5 separate regions of the Homo sapiens genome follow, and regions 2, 3, 4 and 5 are each linked to region 1. Evidence: promoter capture Hi-C in human tissues and cell types (Jung and others, 2019). All regions are on one chromosome and are shown on one strand. Each heading gives the region's core, a stretch centred on a gene start or on the middle of the fragment in contact. The rest is flanking DNA. Distances are from core to core; before and after follow the strand shown.

The links. The method cuts DNA at HindIII sites, captures the fragments that hold promoters and counts their contacts. A contact is called where the count stands out against the background at its distance.
Region 2: a contact is called between a fragment that was not itself captured here and the fragment with the promoter of FOXB2 in region 1, in 8 of the 25 tissues and cell types used here (aorta, dorsolateral prefrontal cortex, liver and 5 more).
Region 3: a fragment that was not itself captured here is called in contact with the fragment with the promoter of FOXB2 in region 1 in 2 of the 25 tissues and cell types used here (dorsolateral prefrontal cortex and spleen).
Region 4: a fragment that was not itself captured here is called in contact with the fragment with the promoter of FOXB2 in region 1 in 1 of the 25 tissues and cell types used here (IMR-90 fibroblasts).
Region 5: a fragment that was not itself captured here is called in contact with the fragment with the promoter of FOXB2 in region 1 in 1 of the 25 tissues and cell types used here (H1 embryonic stem cells).

What each region holds. Positions count from the first base shown.
Region 1 is chr9:77,016,679-77,022,356 of GRCh38, reverse strand. It overlaps FOXB2 (forkhead box B2), which reads right to left and starts at 2,702. Exons shown (of 1, transcript NM_001013735.1): 1 at 1,404-2,702. The coding sequence starts at 2,702. The coding sequence ends at 1,404. The HindIII fragment of the contact is 6,747 bases long and covers 1-5,678 here.
Region 2 is chr9:76,727,337-76,732,666 of GRCh38, reverse strand. The region is part of intron 6 of PRUNE2 (prune homolog 2 with BCH domain); the gene reads left to right. Among named protein-coding and RNA genes, the nearest start is that of PCA3, 34 kb to the left of the region's middle. The HindIII fragment of the contact is 6,012 bases long and covers 598-5,330 here.
Region 3 is chr9:76,698,861-76,704,820 of GRCh38, reverse strand. It overlaps PRUNE2 (prune homolog 2 with BCH domain), which reads left to right. Exons shown (of 19, transcript NM_015225.3): 8 at 1-60; 9 at 722-1,484. Among named protein-coding and RNA genes, the nearest start is that of PCA3, 63 kb to the left of the region's middle. The HindIII fragment of the contact is 3,550 bases long and covers 1-3,025 here.
Region 4 is chr9:77,422,188-77,428,302 of GRCh38, reverse strand. It overlaps GNA14 (G protein subunit alpha 14), which reads left to right. Exons shown (of 7, transcript NM_004297.4): 6 at 2,588-2,741; 7 at 4,134-5,224. The coding sequence ends at 4,324. Among named protein-coding and RNA genes, the nearest start is that of GNA14-AS1, 22 kb to the left of the region's middle. The HindIII fragment of the contact is 6,809 bases long and covers 1-5,670 here.
Region 5 is chr9:77,452,942-77,458,748 of GRCh38, reverse strand. All of the region lies in intron 2 of GNA14 (G protein subunit alpha 14), which reads left to right. It overlaps GNA14-AS1 (GNA14 antisense RNA 1), which reads right to left. Exons shown (of 5, transcript NR_121184.1): 2 at 2,227-2,454. It overlaps LOC124902185 (a long non-coding RNA gene), which reads right to left and starts at 1,666. Exons shown (of 2, transcript XR_007061598.1): 1 at 1,584-1,666. RefSeq lists an enhancer at 3,236-3,355. The HindIII fragment of the contact is 3,169 bases long and covers 2,920-5,807 here.

The sequences.
Region 1 (5,678 bases), core at 1,453-3,952:
ATAGAGAACACCGCGTACAACACCAGCAGACATAAACAAAGTCACAACCCGAACGCGGCGCGGACAAGAGGCGGAGGTGACTTAGAGCCAAAGGGCAAAGCGGATTTCTCCCCACTCTGCCCCCCTCCATTCCCAAAATTGTGTCGCGAGTAAAGTGCTATTCCCTGGGGCTCAAGAGGGGGGAAGGGCAAGAGCGACAAGGCAAGTTTCTTTCCCATTCACGAATTGAAACTGAAGAATTAATTCGCCTGAAAGACATAAGCGCTCAAACAGCACACGGAATACAAAAACAGCCGCAGCGTGCAAAGGTGACTGGGTGGTCCCCTTGCTTCCGTCCGAGGAGACTGGAAGGGAACAGCCATGGAACGTTTCTGCAAGCGTTAAGAGCAATATTGTCGAGTGATGTGCCGAGTTTTTCCTGCATTCGTAAGTTAGGGAAACAAAATCCCGCTATACAAGTGATTTGTTTCCTTAAAATTCCAAATAGAAAGGATCGTGGGAATTCACATTATTCTTGGGCTCTCATCCGACTGATACCCAAACAAGTTGCAGGTGGAAAGTCGCCTGTATTGTCTCCCTTTGGTTGTGTTTCCCAACTTTTGGAATTTGGGGCTTTACCCTTTAAGCTGCTGCCATTCTCTTTTGTACAAACTAATTGCTCTAGAGGTTCCTCCTATCCTTCTTGACCCCCAGGTCAGAGCCAAGAACCTTAGCTGTTTCCCAAAGATATTTCGTGGGGTTCCCGCTGCCTCCTCTCCTCCCCTTCCCCCTCCAAAGCGACTTTATTCATGACACCGTTTCCTTGCCCATTTAGCTGACTAGGAAAATAACGGTATCAAACGCTTCCTCTTTTCCTTCTTAAATAAAACGAAATTTCCTTAGTGGACGGCAGTTTTGTCTTGAATGTTCACGAGAGGCGACCGCCGAGGATGCGACCAGCAGAGAGAAACGTGGTGGCTGAGATCCGTTTCAGCGTCACTCTCTGTTGGATTCTTCGCGGGAGGTTTAGCTCTGCCAGCTTCTGCTCCCAGGAATAAGGGTCAGAATCGACTTCCAATTTACCAGCGAATGAGGCTTTCCTAACCTCCTTCGTTCCCTCCCCCCATAACTTATGGATTTATATTAATTACAATAGAAACTCTTACCTGAAAATTGGCTTTCATTAATCTGATTGTACAACATAGTATAAACACAGACACCAGGAAGGTTATATTTATTCAGACCACTGGAGAATCCACTTTTCGGGGTTGTTCGTCTATTTAAATACCTTCCGTTCCAGCAAAGGCTGAGACTCGCCAGCTCTGCCCGGCCTGACCAGGGCGCCCTCTCCCCGTCGGGTGGTTTGGGCGGTTCCGGGCCCGGCGTCTCTCACCCCGCTGGTCTCCCCACGCCCGCCGGGTCCCCTAGGAGTGCACTAGCACCGAGTGCAAGGAGCCGCCCTTGCTTTCGGCCGAGGTAGGGGCTGTGGGCTCCAGCAGAGAGGCAACGGGCGAGGCCGCGGCCGCGGAGCACACGGTGGATGGCGCCGGAGGCTGCTGCGAAGCCGCGGGGACAGTGAGCCCCGGCTGCAGCGCGGACACGGGCGGCAGCGCAGGCGTGGGCTTGATGGGCACCGGCATGGCAGGCAGGCTCTGGCTTGCCGAGTGGCACAGGGACTTGACCGGGACCCCGAAGGCCCCATACTCCGGGCCTACAGGGACTCCGGCTGCGGCTGCGGCGGCCGCGGCGGCGGCCACCGAATCCATGACGCCAACGTGCGGCCACACGGAGCTGACGACGTTGCCAAGCTGGCCGGGCACGGGGTAGCCCAGGTGGTGCATGACGGACGCCAAGGGCAGCCCTCCAGCCTGCAGCACGCCCTTGTAGTCCCGGCCAATAATGTTCTCAATGGCAAAGGGGTGCTTGAAGCCTGACGTGGACGCCGCGGCCGCGGCGGCAGCGGCGGCGGCCGAGCCCAGCCCGTAGGGTGGGAACTGAGACAGGCGTCCCACGCTGCCCACCGCGGCTGCCGCGGCCGCCGCCGCCGCCGCCGCCACGGCCGCCGCCTCCTGCATCTTGCCGGGGTGAGACGGCTGCTGAGGCTGCGACTGCTGGGGCGGTTGCTGCGGGGGCTGTGACGGGAGGTGCGGAGGCGGCTGCGGAGCAGTAGGCGGTTGCTGATGGAAATAGTGTACCATGTGCGGCGGCGGCGGGGGCGGCGGCGGCGGCGGCTGGGGTGGGTGGTGGTGATGGTGGTGGTGTGCGGCAGCGTGGTGATGATGGTGGTGGTGGGGGTGGTGGTGGTGATGGGGGTGAAGGTGCCCTCCCGGACCGGCGCCCGGCGCGCTCTTGGTGCTTCCCGCGTGCAAGTGAGTATGGTCGGCGCGCAGCACCTTGAAGCGCTTGCGACGCCGCAGGAAGCTGCCGTTCTCGAACATGTCCCCGCAGTCGGGGTGCAGCGCCCAGAAGCTACCCTTGCCAGGCTGGTCGGGCCTCCGCGGAATCTTGATGAAGCAGTCGTTGAAGGAGAGGTTGTGGCGCAGGCTGTTCTGCCAGCGCTGTGTGTGCTCGCGGTAGTAGGGGAAGCGCTCCATGATGAACTTGTAGATGTCGCTCAGCGGCAGCATCTTCTCGGCCGAGTGCTGGATTGCCATGGCGGTCAGCGAGATGTAAGAGTAGGGCGGTTTTTGGTCGCTGTACGAGCTCTTCCCCGGCCGCGGCATCGCCCCCGGCTCCTCCACCGCCCTCCGGCCCGCACTGGACCACAGAATCTCTCCGCACTCCGTTCCTGGGGCCTGGCTGCCCCCACTAATTCCCACTCGGCCCCTCCAGTCCCGCCACTTTGCCCTCTCGCCCTCCAGGCCCTCTCTGCTTCTCTCTCCTGCCTTCTCCGAATTGCCTGGTGTCTCCGACCTTGGCCTTTCGGGCCTACTCAGCTCTCGGAAGCTGGCAACTTCTGGCCCCGACGGTTGCCGACTGGCGCGCACAGTCGCGGGCGGAGTGCACCAGGTTTACCGCCGCCTTCTCTGCGTCTTCCCCCGGGTGGCCAAAGACTGAGTGCTGGAGCTGGCTGCAGAGGAGAGTGGCAAGGGGCCGTGTTTCCTCCCGGCCTCTTTGCTTTTTCTAGGTCCGAGGGAAACCCAGACCAAGATGGCTGGGAGGAAGGTCTGGGCAGTAGAGACTCTGGCCCTTTAAATCTGAGTTTGCGCCTGCTGTCCTGGAGGCCAGTGACAGCAGGACTTCCAGTGCCCTGGACGCAGGCCCCTGGCCAGGCACTTAGCCAGACCGCGCTGGAGTTCTCCTTTTCCTGGAGTGAAAAATCAGGGTAAGGAGAGAGAAGATTGGCTTCTAGGGCGCCTCTCTTTTCTCCGAGGCTCGCAGCGTCGCCGGGGTTAGAAGAGACGCGCAGCCCTAGGCTGTCGCTGAGGAGAAAAAACTTTGGTGGTTTCTGAAGCGGCAGCGCCCGCAGGTTCTGCTGAGGAGTGTGGGGCGCAGGACTCTGGGAGCGAGCGGCGGGCTGGAGAGGGCGTCTGCGAATGCTGGGTGAGTGCTGGCCGGGGAGGCTCAGCCGTCCGCGCCGCAGCTGCCGCCTTTCTCCCGGGCTTGTCTTGAGGAGGAGAGGCGACGGCAGTGGCAGCGACGCGCTCTCCTGGCTGCGTTTTGTAATGGTCCCCGAGACGCCGAGACCCCCGCAGCTAGCGCTTCGAGACTATCACATGACCGAGGCTGAGGGACTCAGCCGCCGCCGCCGCGTCTGTAGCTGAAGAAGGGGCAAGAAGGCGCCGTGCCTCGCCCCCGCCCCCTTTTCCACCTCGTTTCGGGCGCTCTCCACCCATCGCGTTCACCACTCGCTCGGCAGCCCCCAGCCACCTCCCGGTGCGGCGGGTGGCGCAGGCTGTTCGCCGGGAGGGGGCACAGCTCCGGGTGCATTTCCCGCAGCTGCGCCCCACCCGGGCCACCAAGCACGGTGGAGGGGGAACAGGACACTGCCTTCTTGCTTCTCTTCTCTCTGGCATCTCCCTCTTCCGCCCCCTTCCTTTTACCCTTCCCTGTTTTCATCTACTCGCTGTGAGCTTCTCTCTCCTTACAAACCCTTTTTCCTGGGCTAGACACTCTGGGTCAAGTTCAGAGTATCGTGTCCTCAAGGCCTCTTCTCTGCAAGAAACCCCGATGATTAGAGGGCTGGAGGGAAAAACTCATGGGGAAGAAAGCATGGGGTGTTTTCACCAAATGCCAAATTCATCTCAGTTTTATTGCGCGCCAACTGCATGTGAGGCACCAGGTGCAGGGAGACAGGAGACAGTATCCGAGCTCCACCATCGCGGTATAGAGGGTGAGACGAACAGTAACCAAGAAATTAATAGAATAGGCACTAAAGGGCTTGGCGAATGGAGGCTCCACCACACTTTCCTGGAGCGAGTGAGTTGGACAAGATGAGGTTTCTCTGGGATGGCGATGTCTGAGCTGGGGCCAGAAGTAAGAGTTGGGGATTCAGGGGTCCCATCACCTGTGTGTGCTGGAAGGAAATCTTTGCTATTCTTAGCACGGTGGTGTGGGGCCAGGGCGAGGCAGGAGGTGGAATGGAAATAATTAAATAGGAAGCAAAAATTATCAGTCCACAGGATCCTGGTGTGATCTGCGAGGGAGAGGTGGATGAACCCAGGAGTGAGGTCCTTCTGCTTGGAGGTTCCTGCTCTGCACTCATCCAAACACCCAGCAGGAAACCCCAGTTTACTGCAGGGAGAACCTGAAGTTGTATACTCGTTTTGGCTACCTTTGCCCTTCAGCTGGGAGGAAAAGCAGAGTTTAGAAACAAGTATACTCTCCGTCTCTGGGACTGTTTCATTATTTGTAAAATAGGGTGGCTGAAGTTGGAAATTCACGGGTCCTTTCCCGTTAGGCGATTTGAGGAGAAAGGAGCATTTGGACACTATGGCTCCCTCGGTTTTCCCACGCCTAACCTGGAAGAAAGCCATCGGCCCAGCTGCTTGGGGGGCTGCCCCCTAACTAGCAACCTTGGTGACACCAGATCGGGTGTTTTCAGCTTCTGGCTTTTGGTGAGCTGGACGGTGGGAGCACGTCTGTCCGTGGGGTGGCTTAGCCAGGTCGCAGGAGTGCCGTGAGCGGGTCAGGCCCGTAATTTCCATCTTTAGTCAGGAGCTAGATTTCTGGCTAGCTCTATGTGGCCAGTTTGTCCTAGGCCAGAAGACGTCTGAGAATAGATGTTACGACTGAAGCTTGCAAGAAGGCCCGGGGAAAAGAGCAGCTTCTTGGTCCTAAGCCCTTTTCAAAGTAAGATGTTTTCTCTTTCACTGTATGTCGGAAGCTTTCCTCCTGCCATAGGAGTTTCTGCGCGATTTTTGTCCGCTGAGACACTTGAGAGAGCCGAGCAGCGGACAGCCTCTTGGCCTCGGGAAGCCACAGAATTCCAAGGACGCTCACAGTTTGACAAGAGCCTGCTGGAGCCAGGTGGCTCCTTTTCCTTGGAACAAGACCGTGAGACAACAGCCCTGTCCCAGCCCAGGAAGCTGGGGTCTCCTGCACCGCTGTCAGGCCGCTGCTGAGGAGCTCTGCGTGCCGCACACTTAAGGGCTCTCCGGACTTCGACCCCACACGCAGCTCGAGCAAAGGGATCTTTTGTTGATACCTCGGATAGCATCCCTTCCGCGGGTTGCTGGAACAGCAGAGTCTCCTTTTGG
Region 2 (5,330 bases), core at 2,354-4,853, 290 kb after region 1:
CTCAAGCCCCAGGAAAAATCAGACACAGACAAACTATACAACCTAGACACTACACATTCTTAAGTTAATCAGGCCTGCTAACCAGACACTGTGGAGAACTGGGCTGCTCATCTTTGCCCCTGTATAAGAAATAAGGAATCCTTAGCAGTTGCTTGATTCTAAAGTTAGAGTAAATGAAAGGCAACAGAAGGATGATTCAAAACACATGTCAAAAACCAAGCCAAATGTGCGTGGGTGGTAAGGGCAGATTTCTCAGAGGTTCTAGACCATGATAGACAAAGAGAAGATTGCCTTTCCCCAAAGAATGTATCTTAAGTGTAATTTTCTTTTTTCTTCTTTTATTTTTATTTTTACTTTTTTGAGACGGAGTCTCGCTCTGCCCCCCAGGCTGGAGTGCAGTGGCACTATCTCGGCTCACTGCAAGCTCTGCCTCCTGGAGCCATTCTCCTGCCTCAGCCCCCAGTAGCTGGGACTACAGGCACCCACCACCATGCCCGGCTAATTTTTTGTATTTTTAGTAGAGACAGGGTTTCACCATGTTAGCCAGGATGGTCTTGATCTCCTGACCTCGTGATCCACCCGCCTCGGCCTTCCAAAGTGCTGGGATTACAGGCGTGAGCCACCGCGCCCGGCCAAGTGTAATTTTCTATGACATAAATGCACGTATCAGGGTCCCTTAGAGGACCTGATGCTTGCTAGTGGTGGGAGCAGCGGGGGTGTCTGAGTAAAAAGGTTTGACTCCTTTACTATAAGCAAAGGAGGTTTGCTTTGATCACTAACAAAATGTAATTGCAAGCTACTCTTTCTTTTGTTTAGTTTATTACATAAATAATACATGAGTTTGTTCACACTGTAAAGGAATCTAAATAATGCAGACAAAGCTCAAGGCCTTTTTATACCCTCATTCAAATACCAGTCCTTTTTCTAAATAATAAGTGTACCAATGAGGTGTACATTTTTCTGGAATTTTCTCCTTGCTCTTTTTGGTACGTACTAGAAAGATACAATTTTGTTTTGTAAGTTTAAAAAATATATTTATTGTTCCTGCCGGGCATGGTGGTCTGCAATCCCAGCACTTTGGTAGGCCAAGATGGGGGGATCACTTGAGTCCAGGAGTTCAAGACCAGCCTGGGCAACATAATGAGACCCTGTCTATACAAAAAAATAAAAAAACAAAATTAGCTGGGTATAGTGGTGTGTGCCTGCAGTCCAGCTACTCAGGAGGCTGAGGCAGAAGGATCGCTGGAGCCTGGGAGGTCAAGACTGCAGTGAGCTGACATCTTACCACTGCACTCCAGCCTGGGTGACAGAGCAATACCCTGTCTCAAAAAAAAAAAAAAAATATATATATATATAGATAGATAGATAGATAGATAGATAGATAGAGAGAGGGAATATATGTTTATAGTGTGTGTGTGTGTATGTGTGTGTTAAACTTGATTTTCCCCCATATAATAATATGTCTTGGAATATTTCCACAGCAGCAAGTATATATATCTTTTTCATTTTTCATAGCATAAAGAAATATGAAATATGAAAGCCCCATTGCTCATTAAGCTATCTTCTGAGAGAGGTTGACCAGCAAGCCACTCTTCTGTTGCCATATTCTCAGTGTGAAATCATTTCCTCTATCATATTGAGATCCTGCATTCTACTTAGATAAATTCCACACTCTCTGGGTTCCGCATTTTGCAAAAGAGAGATGTTAAGAATGTTTGGTGTTTCCTTTCAGATTGCCTCATCTCTTTCGTCTCTTTATTTTTTTGAGACGGAGTCTAGCTCTGTCGCCAGGCTGGAGTGCAGTGGTGCGATCACAGCTCACTGCAACATCTGCCTCCCAAGTTCAAGCGATTCTCCTGCCTCAGCCTCCCGAATAGCTGGGATTACAGGCGTGTGCCACCACCACACTCGGCTAATTTTTGTACTTTTAATAGAGATGGGGTTTCACCATATTGGTCAGGCTGGTCTTGAACTCCTGACCTCGTGATCTGCCCGCCTTGGCCTCCCAAAATGCCAGGATTACAGGCGTGAGCCACCGTACCCGGCCCTCTTTCATCTTTTATTTCAGGGGTAGAACCTCTCCTTTTTTTATGGCTTCTGGTAGCATTGGTTAATATCTTACTACTCAACATGTGGTGCACAGACCAGCAGCACAGCCATCACCTGGGAGCATGTAGAAATGCAGAATCTCAGGCCCCCTGAGTCAGAATCTGTGGTTTAGCAAGAATCCCAGGTGATTTGTGTTTAAGTTACAGATGCGTGGGTTAATATATGTTGTGACTCAAAATCACAAGATTATATGTATCTTTTTTCTACAGGTGAGGAGGTAGGGCTGCACAGTTACCTCTGACAGTAGAAGCTCTCTTTATTGATCTTCCCTTAACTAATGTACTGAACTAAATGACATTGTCCACTCTACCCTGTAACGTATACTCATCGATAACCTTAGCTGAATGCTGACAGCCAGCCAAAAACTCTCTAGACTGAACAGGTGTGTACATATGGATTAGCTGCATTTAATGTTTGCCAAGTATCAGCTGTGTTTGCTCCAAACCTATTTAAATCAATTGTACATGTTAATATAATTACACAATCTTGAATAAACTGATGAAATAGGACTAAGGTAGTTATTTCTAAGATTAATGCTTTGGAAAGACAAGAAAATGAAATGAAACATGCTCTCAAGAAAAATATGGTCTCAAATTAGGATAATACAGCTATAAAAAATTGGCAGACTTGTAAAAATGTAGGAGTCTGTGTTCAGATTTTTTTACATATGTCTAAGTTTTTATTCCACATTAAGGAAATTGAAATTAGAAATGGAAAATTAAATTTTATATGTATGGCTGCAACAAAGAAGTTGGAAAGCTCCTATAAACCCATGCTTTTAAATATTTTAAAAGAAAAAAATACTTTAAAAGACCTTGGTTCTACATGAAAAGATTATAAATGGATGCATTATTTTATGTTTGAATTCAAATAAGATCGTTTTATTTTATTTTATAATAAAACATTTCTTTTTAACAGTTTACCTCTTTAGCCAAATTTTTAATTAACCAACTCCTTGTCCTAATCATATCAGCTAATATAAAAAATATACAGTAGAAGAATGCTACTGTATACTTTCATTTCTAAAGAGCCAAGCAAAGTAGAAGCAAGAATTTTATACCTTAATGGACTCTGGCTTTTTTTGTTGCTGTTGTTGTTGTTTGTTTTTGACAGATAGGAACCTGAGGCTCAGAAAAATGAAATGTCTTGCTTTAGATAAAAATGTGGTTCTCAAATTGTGGTTCCCAGACCAGCCACATCAGCATCACCTGAGAGCTCGCTAGAACTAACAGCCCCAGACCTACTGAATCAGAAACGCTAGAAGTGGGGCCCAGGTGTCCGTATTTTTAGAAGCCCTGTAGGTGATTCATGAGTTCAGCTAAAGTTTGAGGATCATTGACTTAGATCACATCCTAAAGACAGCACCTGGAGAACCCATTGCTCCATTACACTCTCTGGTTCATTTGTCCCACACTTTCTCCAAACCTGAGAGTTCTTTTAATCAGAAATTCTGTAGCTCCGTAATTTAAACAATGGCTGCAACAAAAGAATCTTAGGGCAAAAAGGACTATTTCTAACATACATAAGGTAGAAAGACAATCTCCAAACTGTCCCTGAAAATGGATTATTCTAATGCCCTAATTGACAAATAAACTTACTGTTAATGGAGTTGTAGCTGTTGGGTCTTGGCTGCTGCTGACTACCATCTATGTATTGAGGGCTGATTGTGTGAGAGATCCTAAGCTAAGTGTTTTATACATTTTCTCATTTTATAAGTAGGTTATTATACTCATTTTCCAGAGGAAAGAACTGAAGCTTAGCCTAATAAGTAACTTGCCTAAAGGTGCAGAGATAACAGGCTGTGGAGCTAGGATGTGAGTCCTGGGCTGCTGTATTCCAAAGCCTATTCTTTTAAGCACTACATTTTATTATTTGCTCATTTGGAGAAGTTAGGGCTGCTTATTTAAAAACACACATACGCAAATATGAACCAAGTTTTTGGAATTTATATTTTTCCCCAGTGACTATCAAAGTTCAGTCAATGACTAGAGAATAGAAACTAGAATCACTGATGTAGAAACTATGTGTAGACAATACAAATTGAAAATATTTCTTTATGTCAATACAGACTCCTGTTCTCCACCCTACCTGCACATTAATCAATGTACCTCCTTGAAAAATATACTGATACCCAGGCCTCACCCTTAAGCCAATTAAATTTAAATCTCATGGGGTGGGCTGTGAGTACTTGTATTTTTTTTTTTAACAGCTCCCTGGGCTATTCTTAGGTATAGCCGGGGTTGAGAATGGATTGAGATGTGAACATACAGGTTTAGATAATTCAGGCCCAGAAATGGGTTTTAATGGGTTTTGATGAGTTTTTCCACATAGCCTAAGTTATTGGGCAAAGATGCTGGTAGCCTGTTATCAGGCAAGAATGCTAGCCATTCATTGAACAGTTGTAATGCCCCATGAGTGTGGCATAACATAGCTATACCCTCAAATATCTGCCATATTTTAGGTTACCATTATGGAGATAAAAGATAGATTTTTCAGGAATCCTAAATATAAGATTTGGCATTTAAAAATGCCCTGTTTAAGGCCAGGCGTCGGGGGGCTCACACCTGTAATCCCAGTACCTTGGTAGGCTGAGGCAGGCAGATCACCTGAGGTCAGGAGTTCAAGACCAGCCTGGACAACATGGTGAAACCCCATCTCTACCAAAAAATACAAAAATTAGCCAAGCATGGTGGCTTGCACCTGTAGTCCCAGTTACTCGGGGAGGCTGAGGTGGAAGGATCACTTGAACCTGGGGGCAGAGGTTACAGTGAACCGAAATCACCCCACTGCACTCCAGCCTGGGTGACAAAGTGAGACCCTGTTTCAAAAAAAAAAAAAAAAAAAAAAGCCCTGTTTACCCATAACTAAGTTGGAATAATAGTACAACTTTGCTTGACAAAAAAAAAAAAAAAGAAGAAGAAGAAGAAAGAAACAACTCTGGAAAATACCTGGGTAAACTTCATTTTCCTGGAATAGGAAGTAGATGTTTTATAAAATCTTGGCTCTTTTAAACCATCCTGCTGTTTTCTTTGTTTAAGAGAATCGAAGCTTGGTTTCATTTATAAGCACAGCAATCTAAACTAAAAGACAATTGATGGAAAGATGTTATTTTTACTGGCTTCGAAAAAGGAAATATTTGGCCAATTAATAAAAAGTATTCATGTAGATGCTCCCCATCCCTGATTTACTTTTCTAGTTCTCCTGCCTGTTAAACCAGGCAG
Region 3 (5,960 bases), core at 1-2,500, 320 kb after region 1:
GGGAAGTAGAAACAGATAATTCTGATTTACCAGCAGGTGGAGACATAGGACCACCAAATGGTAAGAAACATTCCATTCTTCCACTTCCAAGAAACTGCTGCGTTGATTAAACTAGTGCATATTTGTAAGACACACTCTTCCTACCAATGAGGGTAGAGAGAAAACTAACTACATTTTCAAGGCATGCCTCACTAAGTCCTGTATTATAACAGCAGTAAAATCTAGTGCATATGTAATACCTATTCCTGATAGTGCACGAGAAAATCGAATGACTCTACAAAATAAAAATATTTTCTAGCTGGGCGCGGTGGCTCACGCCTGTAATCTCAGCACTTTGGGAGGCCAAGGAGGGGGGATCACCTGATGTCAGGTGTTCGAGACCAGCCTGGGCAGCATGGTGAAACCCCATGTCTACTAAAAATACAAAAATTAGCTGGGCGTGGGGGCAGGTGCCTGTAGTCCCAGCTACTCGGGAGGCTGAGGCAGAAGAATAGCTTGAAACCAGGAGGTGGAGGTTGCAGTGAGCCGAGATCACACCATTGCACTCTATCCTGGGTGACAGAGCGGGACTCTGTCTCAAATGAATGAATGAATAAATAAATAAAATATATAAAAAATATTAAATTACCTCTTTTAGATGATCATTTGCAAGGATCACAAATCACACAATGTGTTAATTAAACCTTTTTCTCCTCTTCTCACTTTCAACTTCCACTTCTAGGTGCCAGCAAGGAAATATCAGAATTGGAAGAAGAAAAAACAATTCCTACCAAAGAGCCTGAGCAGATAAAATCAGAATACAAGGAAGAAAGATGTACAGAGAAGAATGAAGATCGTCATGCACTACACATGGATTACATACTTGTAAACCGTGAAGAAAATTCACACTCAAAGCCAGAGACCTGTGAAGAAAGAGAAAGCATAGCTGAATTAGAATTGTATGTAGGTTCCAAAGAAACAGGGCTGCAGGGAACTCAGTTAGCAAGCTTCCCAGACACATGTCAGCCAGCCTCCTTAAATGAAAGAAAAGGTCTCTCTGCAGAGAAAATGTCTTCTAAAAGCGATACGAGATCATCTTTTGAAAGCCCTGCACAAGACCAGAGTTGGATGTTCTTGGGCCATAGTGAGGTTGGTGATCCATCACTGGATGCCAGGGACTCAGGGCCTGGGTGGTCTGGCAAGACTGTGGAGCCGTTCTCTGAACTCGGCTTGGGTGAGGGTCCCCAGCTGCAGATTCTGGAAGAAATGAAGCCTCTAGAATCTTTGGCACTAGAGGAAGCCTCTGGTCCAGTCAGCCAATCACAGAAGAGTAAGAGCCGAGGCAGGGCTGGCCCGGATGCAGTTACGTTGCAGGCTGTCACCCATGACAATGAATGGGAAATGCTTTCACCACAGCCTGTTCAGAAAAACATGATCCCTGACACGGAAATGGAGGAGGAGACAGAGTTCCTTGAGCTCGGAACCAGGATATCAAGACCAAATGGGTAAGCAAAAAGCTAGATTTATTTTTTTTCCTGAAAAGCAATTTATTTAGAAACCTGGGAAATGGTTAGAGGTTATGGAATATGAGGAATACCTGGATGATAGCAGCTTTGCTTATATTGAATGCAAGGCACACCATCAGTAAAAGCAGCTACTAGATAACTATAACCATAATGATAATTTATGTACATTTTCAGCCAAAAAGCCCCTTCAATTTTCATTCAGTCTTATACCTACCCCCCAACTGCCACCCCACCTACTTGAATACCTACATGACTCTTCAACAGGCAGTTGGGAATACAAGGAAGTGACACTAACATTTAATCAGCACCTACTATGTGCAAGGCAGTTTGCATACATTATCTCATTTAATCCTAACATGCCAGTGGGGGGAATGGAAGGAGTAGGGTTGAGTAGGGGGATTCAAGGCTCAGAAATTTTCTATAATTTGCCTAGAATTAAGTAACCAGAGTGAACACCTGGGATTCGAAGCTTGCCACCTCCAAAGCCTGTACTTTCTCAGTTGACACACCGCTTAGCATACAGAGGCATTTTCATATTTTCAAATACAAGGCATTTTCTGGTTTTATGTAAGCACCTAACTTATAGTTAGATAAGAGACAGGCTCCACAGCAGTCTCCAAATCTCAGTGTAACACATTCATTCCCTAATTGGCAGAGAAATTGGCAAACTGTCATTAAATCAGTGATTCATTCATTCATTCATTCACCATGTGGTTTTTGAGAGCTTGCTCTGTGCCGTGGTTCTGGGTAGCCAATGGGCATATATCAGGGAATAGGATGTCATCACTGCCCTCAAGCTTCCAGTCTCTGCTGAAACTGTTTAGCATTCTTCATTTCTCTTCATTTGTGTTTATGAAGCCCACCTGCTTCCAGGGACAAAAGAACAAATTGTGAAAAGTAACTTAAGTAACGGGGAAAGTCATGTTTTCTCCTTAAAATGTAATAGAGAAAAGATATCGGCCAGGTGCGGTGGTTCATACCTGTAATCCCAACACCTTGGGAGCCCAAGGTGAGTGGATCACTTGAGGTCAGGAGTTTGAAACCACCCTGGCTAACATGGTGAAACCCCGTCTCTACTAAAAATTCAAAACTTAGCTGGGGTGGTGGCAGCACCTGTAATCCCAGCTACTTGGGAGGCTGAGACAGGAGAATTGCTTGAACCTGGGAGGTGGAGGTTGCAGTGAGCCGAGATCGTGTGACTGCACTCCAGCCTGAGTGACAGAGCCAGACTCCGTCTCAAAAAAAAAAAAAAGCGAGAAAAGATATATTTTTGCTACTCAGCTTGGGAGTGTAAAGGACTATACACATCACATACCCACAGTGAGTCAAGGAATCTGGATTCCAGCCTGCCTCTACCATGACTGATTATACATTTTAGGATTAATCCCAGGCTTAGGTTTTCTCATGCGTAAAATTAGTGAGTTGGGCTGAAAGATCTCAAGGCTTCCTGCAGTATTAAATTCTGGGAACTTAATTTGTGTGGAAACAGAATGTGTCCAGGGGAGCTTTGGCATTCACAAATTACATTTCTTGATGAAAGGAACAAGGACAATGGAAAGAATAGCTGGGGTATGTTGAGGATTAGCCAAGTGCAGAAGGGGTTAAAAGCTCTACCATATTCCAGGGCAGCTTCATAAATCCAGACATTGTCAGCTGGCCTAATCCTTCTTTCTTCCTGTCAAGCTATTTTCTTCCAGAGAGACCCCAGATCCGTTATCAGAAAGAGAGTAGCAGATGGATCCCAGCAGCCCTGCTGGCATTGTTATAGATTGAGCTCAGAACTCAGGCAGCCATGAGTTGGCTGAGCTATTGTTTGGCTTCTTGTGTGCATTTTGCACATGCCCCGAGATCCAACAGATGACAGTCAGTGTTCAATTGTGCCACCAGCACCTTTTCTTTCAACAAGATTTCTTTGCTCATCCCTTTCTGCTCAGCTTTTGTAGTACTGAAACTTTTCTCACAATGGGGATGGGGCAGATTTTCCCTCCGGCATGTGTATTATCTTTTGCATAAATAATTTACTGTGAATGTGTAAGTCTCCCTCTGTGCTAGATTTTGGGAGAATAAAGAGTTGTCTAAAACTGTGGTTCTCTAAGTGGGGTCCTAAGAACAGCAGCATCAGTATCACCTGAGTACTTGTTAGAAATGCAAATTATCGGCTCCGACTCAGACCTCCGGAATCAGGAACTCTGGGGGTGAGGCCCAGCCAGCTGAGCTTCAGCAACTCCTGATGCCCTCCAAAGCTTGAGAACCACTGGTTTAAAACATACTGTCAGCCGTCTAGGAGTTTACAGTTTAACTAAAGAGTTAGACATAAGTAAAAAGGTAGATAGCAGTGTAATATTTAAGTCAAGCTAGTCAATGCCCAATGTCAGTTTAAGTATAAAATGGGTACTAACTACAGGCTATTTGCTGTTGGACCAGGTGTTAAGCACTCTGCGCTATTTCACTTTACATAGGGCAACCCTGCGAGACAAGAATTATACAAGTGAGGAAATAAGAGGAGAGATATCTGTTTCGGGCGCCTTTATGGAGCAGGCAGCAGGAATGGCTTATTCTCTGTCAGACACAGGAGACAGAGTGCCCAGGGCCCATGATACTTTAAGGAGCCCATGAGAATATTTTCTTTTATAGTCAGAAGAAAAAATTATTATACTTTCAAGTGGATTTGTCTTTATACCAACAAAGTTATAAAATAAATTTTTAAAAAATGTTTTAATGACAGAAGGGGCTTATGAAGGCACTCCTCAAGGGGCTTATGAAAGTCACTAAAGGAAAGGTCATAATTTGGAAAGGCAAAGAAGAGGGTAAGAAGCTAGCTGAGTGAACTGGGATGAATACTATGAAGGAAGCCATGGGGACAGGAAGGTAATCACAGAAGCAAAACAATGAGATAGCTGTGGTTTCCCAAACAAAAACCTGGAAACATCTTCTGACACATAATCTGATCATAGAACAGAAGATCCAAAATCAAGACCATTCTGCAAAAAAGAAAATTAAGAAAGCCTCTTCTTAAATAGAAATAGGTTCATAGTATGTGCAATATGACTCACCAGCTGCAAATCAGCTTCTTCCCTCCCCTCCTTCAGCCTCAGCCTCTCTTAGCTGCCAAACTGTTTTGAGAGCTGCAAGCCACATTTTGAAAATCTGAGAAAGCATGAGAAAAATGCCTTTTCTCCTCATATGCCACCTACTGACTCTTGTTAACAAAACTTGTTACTAGGGCTGAAAGATAACCTCTCTCCCTTGAGATTTGCAGCACTGCATTCATGTTCCCTAGGATCAATCTTTCCAGAATCCTTTGCCAACACCTTGGTCATCCTCCAGCTATAGACCTGTCCAGCAGGGGATCAAATACCAGTTCCCCAAGACAGTGATGGATGTGCCTGATCTTTCCTACATAGTCACAAAGAACATTTGCAGGGTAATCTGTAGCACACAGACCTTTCTTAAAAGGAAGAAACATTTAGCTGTTTATTTTAAAGAAAGCATGATTGGAAGAATGATGTGTGAAGAAAGGGGTAATTTGGTTACATGTTAGGGTTTTTCAGAAAAACAGAACAAATAGGAGATATCTGTATTTAGATCTCCATCTTGCTATCTAGCTAGCTACTGAGAGAATTTTAAGGAATTGGCTCATGCGATTATGGGGGCTGGCAAGTCTGAAGTCTATAGGGCAAGCTGGCAGCCTGGAAACTCAAGGAAGAGTCAGCATTGCAGTCGTGAATGTGAGTTCTGCAGGGCTGCAGGCTGGAAATGCAGGCAGGTTTCTGGGCTGCAGTCTTCAGGAGAATTCCTTCTTCTTCAGGAAACTTCAGACTTTGCTATTAAGACCTTTATCTGATTGGATGAAGGCCCCCTCACATTATGGAAGGTAATTTGCTTTACTCAAAGTCTGCCTATTTCAATGTTAATCACATCTAAAAAAATACTTTTACAACAACATCTAAACTGGTGTCTGACCAAATAACTGGGCACCATAGCCTAGCCAAGTCGAAACATAAACATTAACTATCACAGGTTATAGTAAAAAATCTGATCTATATGTTAAACAAGGATTAAGTCATTAAAATTTTAAAAGTCACTATCTGAATTATATGAAAATGTGATAATCGATATATAGATATATTGGCTTTCCATAGATATGAGCAAGGAAATAATGTGCAAGGGAATTTTAAAAAATCATTTCCAAGAGGATTGAGAAAAGGGATGATATTCAACTGATGAATCTTTTGGAGATACAGGCAGCCATGGGGGATGGAGGGAGGGGGTGGGGGTGGGGTGGGGAAGGAGAAGAGAGGAAATCGTTGTGTCATGTACTTTTGAAACAGTATTGAGACATCACCTGACCCTCATACTTGTGGAGCTGTATCTTGTTTCCTAGCTCTGTGAGGTGAGGTATTCAGTATTCCCTGAAATAAAGATGACCTTCGAACACAGTGTATTTGGTTCTAT
Region 4 (6,115 bases), core at 1,017-3,516, 410 kb before region 1:
TCGAGACCATCCTGGCTAACGTGGTGAAACCCCGTCTCTACTAAAAAATACAAAAAATTAGCCGGGCGTGGTGGTGGGCGCCTGTAGTCCCAGCTATTCAGGAGGCTGAGGCAGGAGAATGGCGTGAACCCGGGAGGCGGAGCTTGCAGTGAGCCGAGATCGCACCACTGCACTCCAGCCTGGGCAACAGAGCGAGACTCCATCTCAAAAAAAAAAAAAGAAAAAAAAAAAGAAAAAATGCCATCTCTTGGACTGAACACTAAAAATTCATATTTACTGGGTTTAGGTTGAGGCTTCTTTTGAGAGCCCACCAGGGATTCTACTGCACAACCAATGCCGAGCAGCACTATCTCTAAAACACTTTACCTGGGCACAGGCTTCCTAACCTCCATAGGCCCATGGTGCTCCCAAATTAGATCCCTAGTGGAACTGGGGTGGGCAGTGGTGCTAGATGCTTGGAGCTGTTCTGGGGCTGTCTGGGATTGCATCTGCCTTCACGTCTCCTGGGAGGGACTCCCTCAGGGCAGCTGGGATGGATCCAGCCTGGTCAGGCATGCGTTGTCCCCTCAGAGTGGCCATAGCACTGGCTGCTTCCAATTCCATCAGTGGGAGCTGCCCTGAGAGTGAAGAGGACCCTCACAGCCACTTCTCTGTCAGGTTGGGGACAGTATCGGTGGAACACTCATGTCCTCCTCGTCATCTTTTCCCCTGAACTTGCATTAAGACCTCTTGACCTTTTAAAAAATGTCTTTTGTTTCCAAGGCGTGAAAGTAAATCAATAAAGGACTCAGTCCAGGATTAGGCAATAACTGAACAAATTGTATCTTGTATTTCTTGAGAGCACACTTTTCTCTGAGGAGCATAGCTTATATTACCTAATTAGTGGAGGATTAACCCATTTAATTGTGTCATTGTGCAAAGAACGGAAATGCTGGCTGTCGCCCAGCCCTCTCAGTTGGAGATTTTTTTTTTTTTTTTAAAGGCAAGACATTCAGTTATCAATATAAAAAAAATAGCTGCAAATTTGTTTCAGGAATTATTTGTGACGTTCCTCAGGAAACTCAAACGATTAGTAAGGTGCACAAGGGACCAGTATCTCAGCCCAAAGTGCTTAGAAATTAAACATTTTCTCTTCTAAAAATCACAAAATATTTGGAGAAAAATTAAGTGGTTGCCACTCCAGACTTTCCCCTCCTGGTTGTAGATATGTATTATATCCACTCTGTATACTGTCTGGGAAGTTTTCATATATTTTATTTCCTTGGAGATCATTATCATTCAGATCATAATAATTTTAAAGCTTTAATACATTCCAGATCGTAATTCCCCCAATGCGTACTGAGTGGCAGAACAAACCTGGGTGTCTGGAAGTTGTGGGGAAAGAGTGATTTATGGCGTGTCCCTCTTGAGTGTGTGTGCTGAGCTTGGATGTTTTTCACTGTGATCCCTTCCCTCCCTACAGGGAAGTTCTTGTTTCTTTCCTCTTAGAAATACTTGAGAAAGAGCAGAATGCTATCTAGAACAATTATTGTCACAGATAAGATTTGTTTGTGCCCTGTCTGTTCTCAGTAAATTAGGAGCATTTAATATCTTCTTGCCAATGTCTAACATTTAGAAATTATCACTGTCTTTCTACACAACCTTCCCCAGGTCCCACTATTACATGGGCTTGGGAAAGTTATTTGAATGTTCTAAACAAGGCCAGGCGCGGTGGCTCATGCCTGTAATCCCAGCACTTTGGGAGGCCGAGGCGGGCGGATCGCGAGGTCAGGAGATTGAGACCATCCTGGCTAACACGGTGAAACCCCGTCTCTATTAAAAATACAAAAAATTAGCCGGGTGTGGTGGTATGCACCTGTGGTCCCAGCCACTCGGGAGGCTGAGGCAGGAGAATCACTTGAATGCAGGAGCTGGAGGTTGTAGTGAGCCGAGATCGCGCCACTGTACTCCAGCCTGGGCGACACAGCGAGACTCCATCTCAGAAAGGAAAAAAAAAAAAGTTCTGAACAACAGTATGGTCACCCATCAAACGGGCCACTGCTCTGCTTGTAAAGTGTGGCACAGGGTGGGTTCCCAGTAGCAGTGCGTCCTGTCTCTGCCAACTTCTAGCATTCCTAGGGCCAGTGGCCTTGCTGGAAGAGCCTTGTCACTTGACTGCTGAGGCCCAGTCTGGAAGCCCATAACCAACTGAGGTGGCCGTGTCAGGTCTGAAGCTGGCACTTCCCCACTTAGTAATCCCAACGATCACATGACACAGGAAACTTGTGAAACGTGGGTAGGAACCTTCCTTTTCCAAGCTGCACCAAAGCCTTTCTTACTTCGTTCCATGTGAGTTTTGGGCTGGAGAAGAGCTGGGATGCTACAGGAGAGGGGACCCAGAAGGGGATGGTTAGTAAGAGGCTTGGGGAGGGGCAAACAGAAGCAGGAGGCCTGTAGCCTGGGGCCCCACATGCTCACCAGCTTCAGCAGACAGTGGCCCAGAGACTGCGGCGGGGCAAGGGAAGAGATGGATGGACTGGCAATGCGCCATGTTGTTTCCAAAATATTTCCTTTCTACTTCATCCCAAGTCCCTTGTTTTTCACTTAGAATCGCATGGAAGAGAGCAAAGCCTTATTTAAAACCATCATCACCTACCCCTGGTTTCTGAATTCGTCTGTGATTTTATTCTTGAACAAGAAGGATCTTTTGGAAGAGAAAATCATGTACTCTCATCTAATTAGCTATTTCCCAGAATACACAGGTAAGTGTCTATCTTGTGGACAGTGTTTTCTGTGCTGATCTCGTCCACCTCCCGGGCATCAGTCTAGAGTTATCACGGCTCAAAGGGGCCTCCCTGGTCTGCCTGCAATAGCCTCTCCCCCTATTCCCACCTTCAAACAGAAGCTCTAGTTGCACCATTGTTGTGTTTTCACCACAGCACCTCCACATGTGCTTCCCTCAGTGCTTGGAATACCCTTACCAACTCCTTTCGCTGCCTCCATGTTGTTCTCCAAAACCCAGCAAAGGCCTCCCCTTCTCTGGGAGCCTTTCTGGCTTCCCCTGCCCATCTGGTCTGCAGGAAGGGTGCCTCCTCCTTTCTGCTCCCTCAGCAGCCTAACCCCTGCTTGCTCTCTTGGCCACATCATGCTATGTCATATCCTCTGCTCACTCAGCTCTCTTCCCAGTCGGCTCCATGAGGGTAGAGACTCTGCTTGATTTATCTGTGCATTCCTCATGCCAGTCAGAGCACCTGGTGCTTCTTATGTGTATGTTAGAGTGTGGCATCCCTTTTCCCAGACACATGGTGGACTCACATAACCTGTCCAAGGTAGGAGAGTCTCATGCCCTGTTGCTAATTGTTTCTGGTACAGGAGGTCTCAAACCTTAAGTTTGACACTGATATTTAGTGGATTCATGTTTTAGCACTCTTCTTTCCCCTTTTACTAACCATACTGGCTGTGTAGTGTAGCACCCTCGAGCTTTAAAATCAGCCTGATGTTAGTTCCCACATTCTTCCTTTTATCTCTCCTAGACCAGAGCTGTCTGTCCATATGTGTTAGCCAGGATTACTTCTCTTCAATAGTGGTCCAAATCAGACAAATTGGGTCACTATGTTTAAACAAATCACTGTAAAGTACAATTTTTAGATACCAGAGGACATTTTAAAATATGACTATTTTATGGGTTCATGATGAGATACCATAAAAATAATGCTCCAGGTAAACCGTTCCCTGGAAATAAAGATGGATCAAAGCAGGATCTCAAATAAGAACAAGAATACATTAAAAAATGGTTCTTGGGGCCAGGCACGGTGGCTCACGCCTGTAATCCCAGCACTTTGGGAGGCCAAGGCAGGTGGATCACCTAAGGTCAGGAGTTCGAGACCAGTCTGGCCAACATGGTAAAACCCCGTTTCTACTAAAAATACAAAAATTAGCTGTGTGTGGTGGTACGCATCTGTAATCCCAGCTACTTGGGAGGCTGAGGCAGGAGAATTGCTTGAACCCCAGAAGCAGAGGTTGCAGTGAGCTGAGACCGTGCCACTGCACTCCAGCCTGGGCTACAGAGCGAGACTCTGTCTCAAAAAAAAGGTTCTTGGGAGGACATGGTGTTAAGTCTGTGTCTTTATTCCTGTAATTGCACTTGTGACTAGGACCGAAACAGGATGTCAGAGCTGCCAGAGACTTTATCCTGAAGCTTTACCAAGATCAGAATCCTGACAAAGAGAAAGTCATCTACTCTCACTTCACATGTGCTACAGATACAGACAATATTCGCTTTGTGTTTGCTGCTGTCAAAGACACAATTCTACAGCTAAACCTAAGGGAATTCAACCTTGTCTAAAAGCTGCTGCCCACTCCTCCCCTATAACAGAAGATGTGATTTGCAAACTCCTTGTTTTATTTGCAAGTGCTTCTGACATCACCAGAGCCAGCCCCATGCCAGGAACTAAGGATGTCATGTAGATCGTGGGGACAGAGATGGGTGATGGAACTTGGAAGATATTTGAGTTTACCAACATACTTTAAAAGTCCTTACATCCCAAATTGTGTTTATAATTATTTTCTTGACTTTTGGCTATAAGATTTTGTGTAATTTTTGAATTTGGTGTTTTCTAGAATTTTTAAAAGCCACTTTGATTTAGTTTTAAATATGTTTAAAAATAGCGATTAAAATTATGTAAGCAAGGAGCCTGTTAGTTTATAGATCATGCCTTCAAACCTCTAGAGTTAATTTGGGTGACTTTTTTAAAAATAAGAATGTTAATGGGTTTGAAGCTTTTTATTAAACCTTGTAATTTAGAGACATTTTTAATTGTGTTTCTCACCTCATGCTGAAGGGTGACTCCTTTAACATGCCACCAAAGATTTTTTTTAAACACTTGGTTCTTTTTGTGTGTTAACTTTCTAAGCCAAATTAATGGATATATAAGTATATCTAATTTAGCTTTGCCACAGTTTGATCACCAAGAAGCCAAAGCTGACATAGAGTAAATGGGCTCTAGATAGCATATATGTTTTATTGGTGAAAAATGTGTGTGTGTGCACGTGTGTGTGTGTGTACATTTTTACCCCCAATGTATATGACCAGATCTTAAAAATGTATGAAATGGCTAGAAGTCCACATTGTTTGACAAATGTTACGTAACCCTGCCAAAGTTCTGATGGCCACCACAGATTTGCTGTTTGAATTATGTATGCTGTGCCTTTCTGAGGAGGCTAAGAATATACCATTCTGCTATTAGCACTGGGTTATGTTGTGTTTCTTAGAGCTCATGGTTGACTGATGGTTCTGCTCCTAAACAGAAAAATGCTGTGGCCTTAATAGTAACTCGGAAACTTTCCTAAGATTCCTCCTTTCAAGGCAAGTCTGCGCATCATCGTGTCATGCTGCAGTTCCCTCAGTAGCTGGCTGGGTCAAGCAGAAGGAGAATCCTCTGGGAATTAAGAGTGCTCCACACTAAAGGCCAAGATGGTTTTGTGCATGTGTGCACACATGTGTGTGCACACACACATACACCATTTGGGGACGTAAGGTATGAAATATCTGTCTCAAATCAGTCTATAAAATGCACCTCGGTTGGCTACATATGTTATGGAACCATGTGTCCCCATTCTGTGGGAACAATTCCAATTGCTGAAAAAGACTGAAATTATTCTGATATGCAGCAATTCTACAATAGCAACATCTAGCTTTAAAAATATGAATCCTCACTCAAGAGATAAATGCAATAGCAACAGCTTTTGTGGAAGTTCACAAATTGATGTTAAAATTTATCTAGAACAGTAAAGTCCAGAAATAGCCGAGACAGTTTTGCGTGAGAACAGAGAGAGGGGAATGGAGCTCTTTAGGATATCTAGAAGCACAAAGAAAATACAAGACAATTCCCCTCCCCACCAACGATGGGCTAAAGGCTATGGACTGGGTTTCACTAGCCAATTAACATAAAAAGGGTTCAACAGAATCCAGTCATCTGGGAAATTAAACCATGAAGAATTCCATTTCTTATTTTAAGCACTTTCTTGCATTGAGTTTTTGTTAATTTATAGTTGGCTGACTACTTAAAGCATATAAGAAAATGATGGCTTTCCATATCCTGGTTGTGGGAGGGCTGTTAAATAAGTCATTCAAAGG
Region 5 (5,807 bases), core at 3,255-5,754, 430 kb before region 1:
AGCCAGAGAAAAGCCCTCGATGTTGATAAACAATCTGTGATACAAAAGTGCACAGATTTCTTTAGTATCTTTACTCTAGGAAAACAGTACAGTAAATTGAGAAGAGACTTCAGTGCAAGTTCTCTTCAAATACGTGGGGCATCCTTATACTAAAAAAGCGTTTGTTGTTTATCCGAAATCCAAATTTAACTGATGTCCTGTATTTTTATTTGGCAACCATATTCTGATGAGACTTTGATATCTGGGCTAACTAAATCCGGAACTTTCGCTAACTGTGCCCTACTGTGATGGGGTCTTCTCACCAGTCACTAATCCATCAGAAACCCACTGCAGGTTCAGGCGCGCGTGGCCAGCGCATTCCTAGTCCGCCACACTGCTACCCAGACAGAACATCCACTGCTTCCACATTCTCCCCAGGCTGCAAAGAGTTCCCAGGAGACTTTCTTTTCCCCCCTCAAAGCTGTGCACTTGGGCCTGGTTTCACCTGCAGAGAAGTGGGTAATGGCTGATAGAGGAAGAAGCGGGTCCCTAAGACAGTCGCCTCTGCTCCACAGTGCCATCTAGAGGAAAGACAGGACATACGCTCTGAGAAGCGCAAGGCTGGGGTGTTAATAAGCAGGCCCTTGGGAAATCTGGAGTGCCCTGTTCCCCTCATTATGATCCCGATCCCAGGCAGAAATGCCTGTGGGCTATCACTACAAAAGGAAAACAACCAAAAATGCATCCAGGATTAAAACCACCGTTTCAAAAGCACATCATTAAAGCAAGCTGTGACCCAGATGTTTGTTTTGGTGTGCTTAAGAGTTTTTCAAGCAATTGAAAAGAGTGGAAAAAGTGAAACACCAAGAAAAAAGAAAAAGAAAAAAAAAAGCAGAGCAAGGAATGTTGTTGGATGATTCTCTGTGAGCCAAGGAGGACCTTTTTATTTAAAAATCTGTAAGCTTTGGTGTTGAGGGAGAACTACTACAAAACTAGACTTGAATTATCATTGGAGCAGGATTTTGAAAATTTATTAAGAGTAGCAGGCTGGGCGGCGTGAGGGTGTCTATAGCCCGGATGAAGGTGCTTATGAAGTAAAAGGCATGTCAATGGGAAATGTGGTCGCTGGAAACATGTAGTTAAATTCAGTGCAAAGAGTAGGACAACCTCACATGTGTCCTTGTGTGCAAGGGAAATCAGCTGCCCTCTTGGCTGCTTTCTCACACTCCGGTAGGGCATTGCCGGTCCATCACACAGAGCTGTCTATAAGACACTGATGGAGTACTATGGAAAGCTTACGGGCATACACAATTGGGCTTAGTCCCTTTACCACTCATTCACTTTATAATTGCAGGAAGCAACTTAAGTTCTCTTGTCAATTTTTATGTACTTCAAAGAACTACTAATAAAATTCGAATTTATAGAACATAGACCCCCAAGGGGCATTTTGTGTTGGTGATAATATTCTACTAACTTGAAAAGTTGCAGCAAAGATGCGCCTTCCACTAAACTCTAACTCAGTCTCTTTCTTTTTCTCTCTCCTTGTCTCTCTCTTTCTCTCTCGCTCCCACTTTCTCAAAGGGTCAGAATGCCTGGGTTCTTACCTTCATATTAGCTCTGAAACAGACTTCAAGATAAAACCTAGCTACGTCGTTCTGGCTGAAACTTTGTAAGTGTTAGGTATAAAGTAAGCACCCTGGGTCTTGCTTCTGTTAATGGGCTTGCAATTGTGGAAGCTGCCACTACGTGGCGTCGTGAGTCACAGTGAATCCTAGTGAGTCACAGGCATGAAACCTAAGTCCTGGCTGTCCCTAGTCAAGGCTATTTATGGTCCTAGGTAAGTACGTAAACTCGTCAGCTGTGTTTATTTTTTTTCATAAACATCACATTGATATTGATATGGATGTAAACCTCTGACAATAATTATTAGCTGATTTATTTTTTAAATATTGTATTTATTTTTACTATAATATTTTCCAATAACTATATTATATTTATTGTATAAATAATATCCTTTGGAGTAGGGTTAAAGAATGTGGGCTGGCATCAGCGATGTACCTTCAGAATGTGTCTTATCAACTCTAGTTTTTCATACTCTGTTTTAGAAAGAACATACGTTACTCCTCAGTTCCACGGTGAATATTAGCAAGTCTTCCATATGGAAACAGTCACATCGTGCTTTTGGGTCTTGGTGTCAGATATTCTCTTACACCTGTTTATAACTTACCAAGGAAAATGCTTACTTACTTGTTTCCAAGCCCTTCTTCTATTTCTGGAACTTCGTTTTCTACTTTCAAGCGGGGTTTAGCTATTACCAAGTTCTGTACTTCAGAGAAGTTTGTTTTACATTGTAGAAGAGCACTTGCCAGGCAAGATGTGCAGAAAACTATTCCTCTGGGCTTTACAACATGTGTAATGGTCTCTTTCTAGTCTGGAGAGTTGCACAGGCAGCCAACTGTCCCCACTCTTTCCTTCCTTTAAAATGTAAATGTATTTAAATCAATAGGGTGTGATGGTTAACAGCCTAGGCTCTGTTGGTCAGGCACGCTTGGAATTGAATGGTTGTTCTGGTACTACTTCTTATCTTCTCTAGGCCTCATCTGTTTCCTTATCTATTAAATAAGGGTATTAAAGTATCTTATTTCCTGGAGTGGTTGTAAAGATCATATATGATCATGCTTATACTAGGTGGTCACAATAATGGCTCAGTTTAGATTAGCTATTATTATTATTTTATTTCATTTTTATGTATACCCTATTTCCTTATACAACACATTAGAGGCTACTTATAAGACTGTCTACCTTAAAATAGTAATCAGTGCCAGAAAAGTTTTTGAATTAAAATGAAAGAGTGAGGCTGGGCAGGGGCCTGTGGGGGAATGAAACACAGGTATTGTAAGATACAAGTACTCATAAACTTCTACTCAGTTACTTAGACTTAGCCACATATTTGTTTCTGAGCTTCCCACTAGCTAAAGTGAAAAGAGAATCAGGTTCACTCATGCGATTCCTATGGACCACAAGGCAAAACCTACCAGTCTCTCAGCGAAGCATAAGGGGTCTTGGTTCTTAACTCCAAGAATATATATTCCTTATGTGGGGCATCATGTGAACAGAGACAGTAACCCTAACAATAACCCTATATGAGGTATCGTAGACACTTTAAAAATATAAGCCGAGGGAAAAGTAAGAGGTAGTTTTGCTCCCCAGAGAACTGGGAACAAGACCATGTGCTGGGCAGAATTCTGAGATTCACGCCCCCTGGTGTACACGTCCTGCATAATCTCTTCCCCTTTGGGTGTGGGCAGGACAGTGTTGGCTGTCACTCCCACGATTAGATTATGGGATATACAAAGTGAAGTCCCGATGTAATGAAGTCCCTAATCAGTGGCTTTAAGTAATCAAAAGGAGATAATCCTGGGTGTTCTGACCTAATCAGCCCATTAAAGAAGATCTAGAGTTCAAGGAGAGTCTCTGCTAGCCTTGAAGAAGGATACTGCCATGCTGTGAGAGAGCCACATGGCCAGGAACTGAGGGCAGCCTCTAGGAGCTGAGAGAGACCTTCAGGTGACAGCTGATGAGACAACAGGGACCTCAGTCCTACAGTCCTGAGGACCTGGATCCTGCCATCAGCCTGAATGAGCTTGGATGAGAGCACAGCCAGCAAACATCTTGATTTCAGCCTTGTGAGACCTTGCACAGAGAACCCAGTTATACCATTGCCTGGACTTCCGACCTACAGAAACTTTGAGATCATCAAAAGGTATTGTTTCAAGCTGCTGAGTTTGTGGCAATTTGTTACACAGCAATAGAAAACTAATGCAAACCATATGGCTGGAATCCACAGCCTTTGAATAGATTCAGAAATAAAATCCAGAACATCTAGGGCATTTCCCAAACTAAACATTCATGGGAGATGCTAATATATGTGTCACATTAAAAGCAAAACAACTTTTTTCGTTGACCCTGACTGTTCGCATTAGAAAGGCCTTTGCTCTACTGGTGGGGCAGAGAGTCAGGTTTCTGGGTTGTAAGCAACAGAAATAAACTGACTCACATTTGCAGAAGAGAGTTTATGGAAAGGCTATAGTGAGGTCATGGAATCAAGGAGCAGGCTAAAGAAACAGTCTCAGAATGGACAGGAACCTGAAAACTCCAGGGGTCTCACTTCCAAAAAAAAAAAAAAAAAAAATCCTGATGGCCAGTTGCCACCAAAATAAAAGAATTTCATCTGTTCCTTTTCCCCGTCCCCACTATTATCAGATAACTCCCCTCAAGGTTCAACAGCTCAGCAAAGTCTGAGTGGCCTGGCACTTAGCCACAGGAGAGCAGGAGACCTGAATTAACAGGTGTGCCAAGATGCACACAGCGAGCGAAAGGTTATCCTCCCAAGCTCAGTTGTAACCCGAAGGAGAGAGAATGGATAATGGGCCACCCAAAAACAAAGGGGGTTCACAGAAGTAGATCAGACTGACAAGTTTAGGGGTAGAATCTGAGACTTCCTCCTTTATGTCTTAGTGTTAGAGGAAAGGGGAAGTCACTTTTGTAAGAAACGGTGAAGACTTTGGAACCACCAAATCCAAAGCTTCAGGAGAAGTAGAAAGAGGGGAGCCGGGGGTGTGGGGTGGAACTACGCAGGTAGTGGAAGGCTGGGCAATGCGGTTCTTCCTTGTGAAATCCAAGATTTTGAAGAGATCGGATGCTGCACGGAGCGGGCGAGGAGCCTGAGCTTTGTGCCTGTGCAAATGAGAAGAGATACTGAATCATGAAGCTTTCACTTCTGAGCATTAGCAGAAACTGCAGCAAGACTTCTGACTTTTACAAGCTATGGAATCGGCTGGAGTCTGAGCAGTTTTATCCTGTGAGAAAATGGATCCCCAGTTGCCATTGAACTATATGTATTTGGCAAGTAGTGTATCGTAAAGCTGCTCTTTGGAAACTCATAATAAAACTAGCATATCAAAAGCTCTGTGCTGTGTTCGGGCCTCCCCACTCCATGTTGCTGTATTTGTTGTGGTGGCTGCAGGCTTATGATTGCTCAGGTTTGCTCAGTTCCATAAATTCTCACTAAATGCTGCATTTGTTGAAGGAATCCTGTTGTAGCTTCAGGGCTGTTCTTGCTGTTGTTTTTAAGCCATACACATGTGGATTATCTTTCTAAGTGACTGAATGGTTAAGAGTTTGGTGCGCATAGTTACACATTTTCATGAACTGTTGCATTTTGTTAATGCATATTGCTCCTTGACTTCATTGTATTTTGTCAGTATTTATTGAATGTAAAGATTTTCAGGTAAGATTCATTTATTCATTCAAAGAATATTGATGTGCGAACCACCATTCTAGGCACGTGGGAGTACATTAATGAAGAAAAGAGACTAATATCTGTCTTAGTCTATTCAGGCTGCTATAACAGAATACCTTAGGCTGGGTAATTTATAAAGAGTAGCGTTTACTGCTCACAGTTCTGGGGATTGGGAAGTCTGCAGAAGTCTAAGATGAAGGCACTAGCAGATGTGCTGTCTGGTGAGAGTCTGCTCCTCAGAGATGGCATCTTCTTGGTGTCTTCGCATGGCGGAAGGGACACACAAGCTCCCTCAGGCCTCTTTTTATTTTTATTTTTTATTTTTTCAGGAACAGGGTCTTGCTCTGTCACCCAGGCTAGAGTGCAGTGGTGCAATCATGGCTCACTGTAACCTCGAACTCTTGGGCTGACGCCATCCTCCTGCCTCAGCCTCTCAAGTAGCTGGGACTGCAGGTACACACACCACCCGGCTGGTTACTTGTTTGTTTATTTGTTTTTAGGGATGAGGGAATGTCGCTATGTTGTC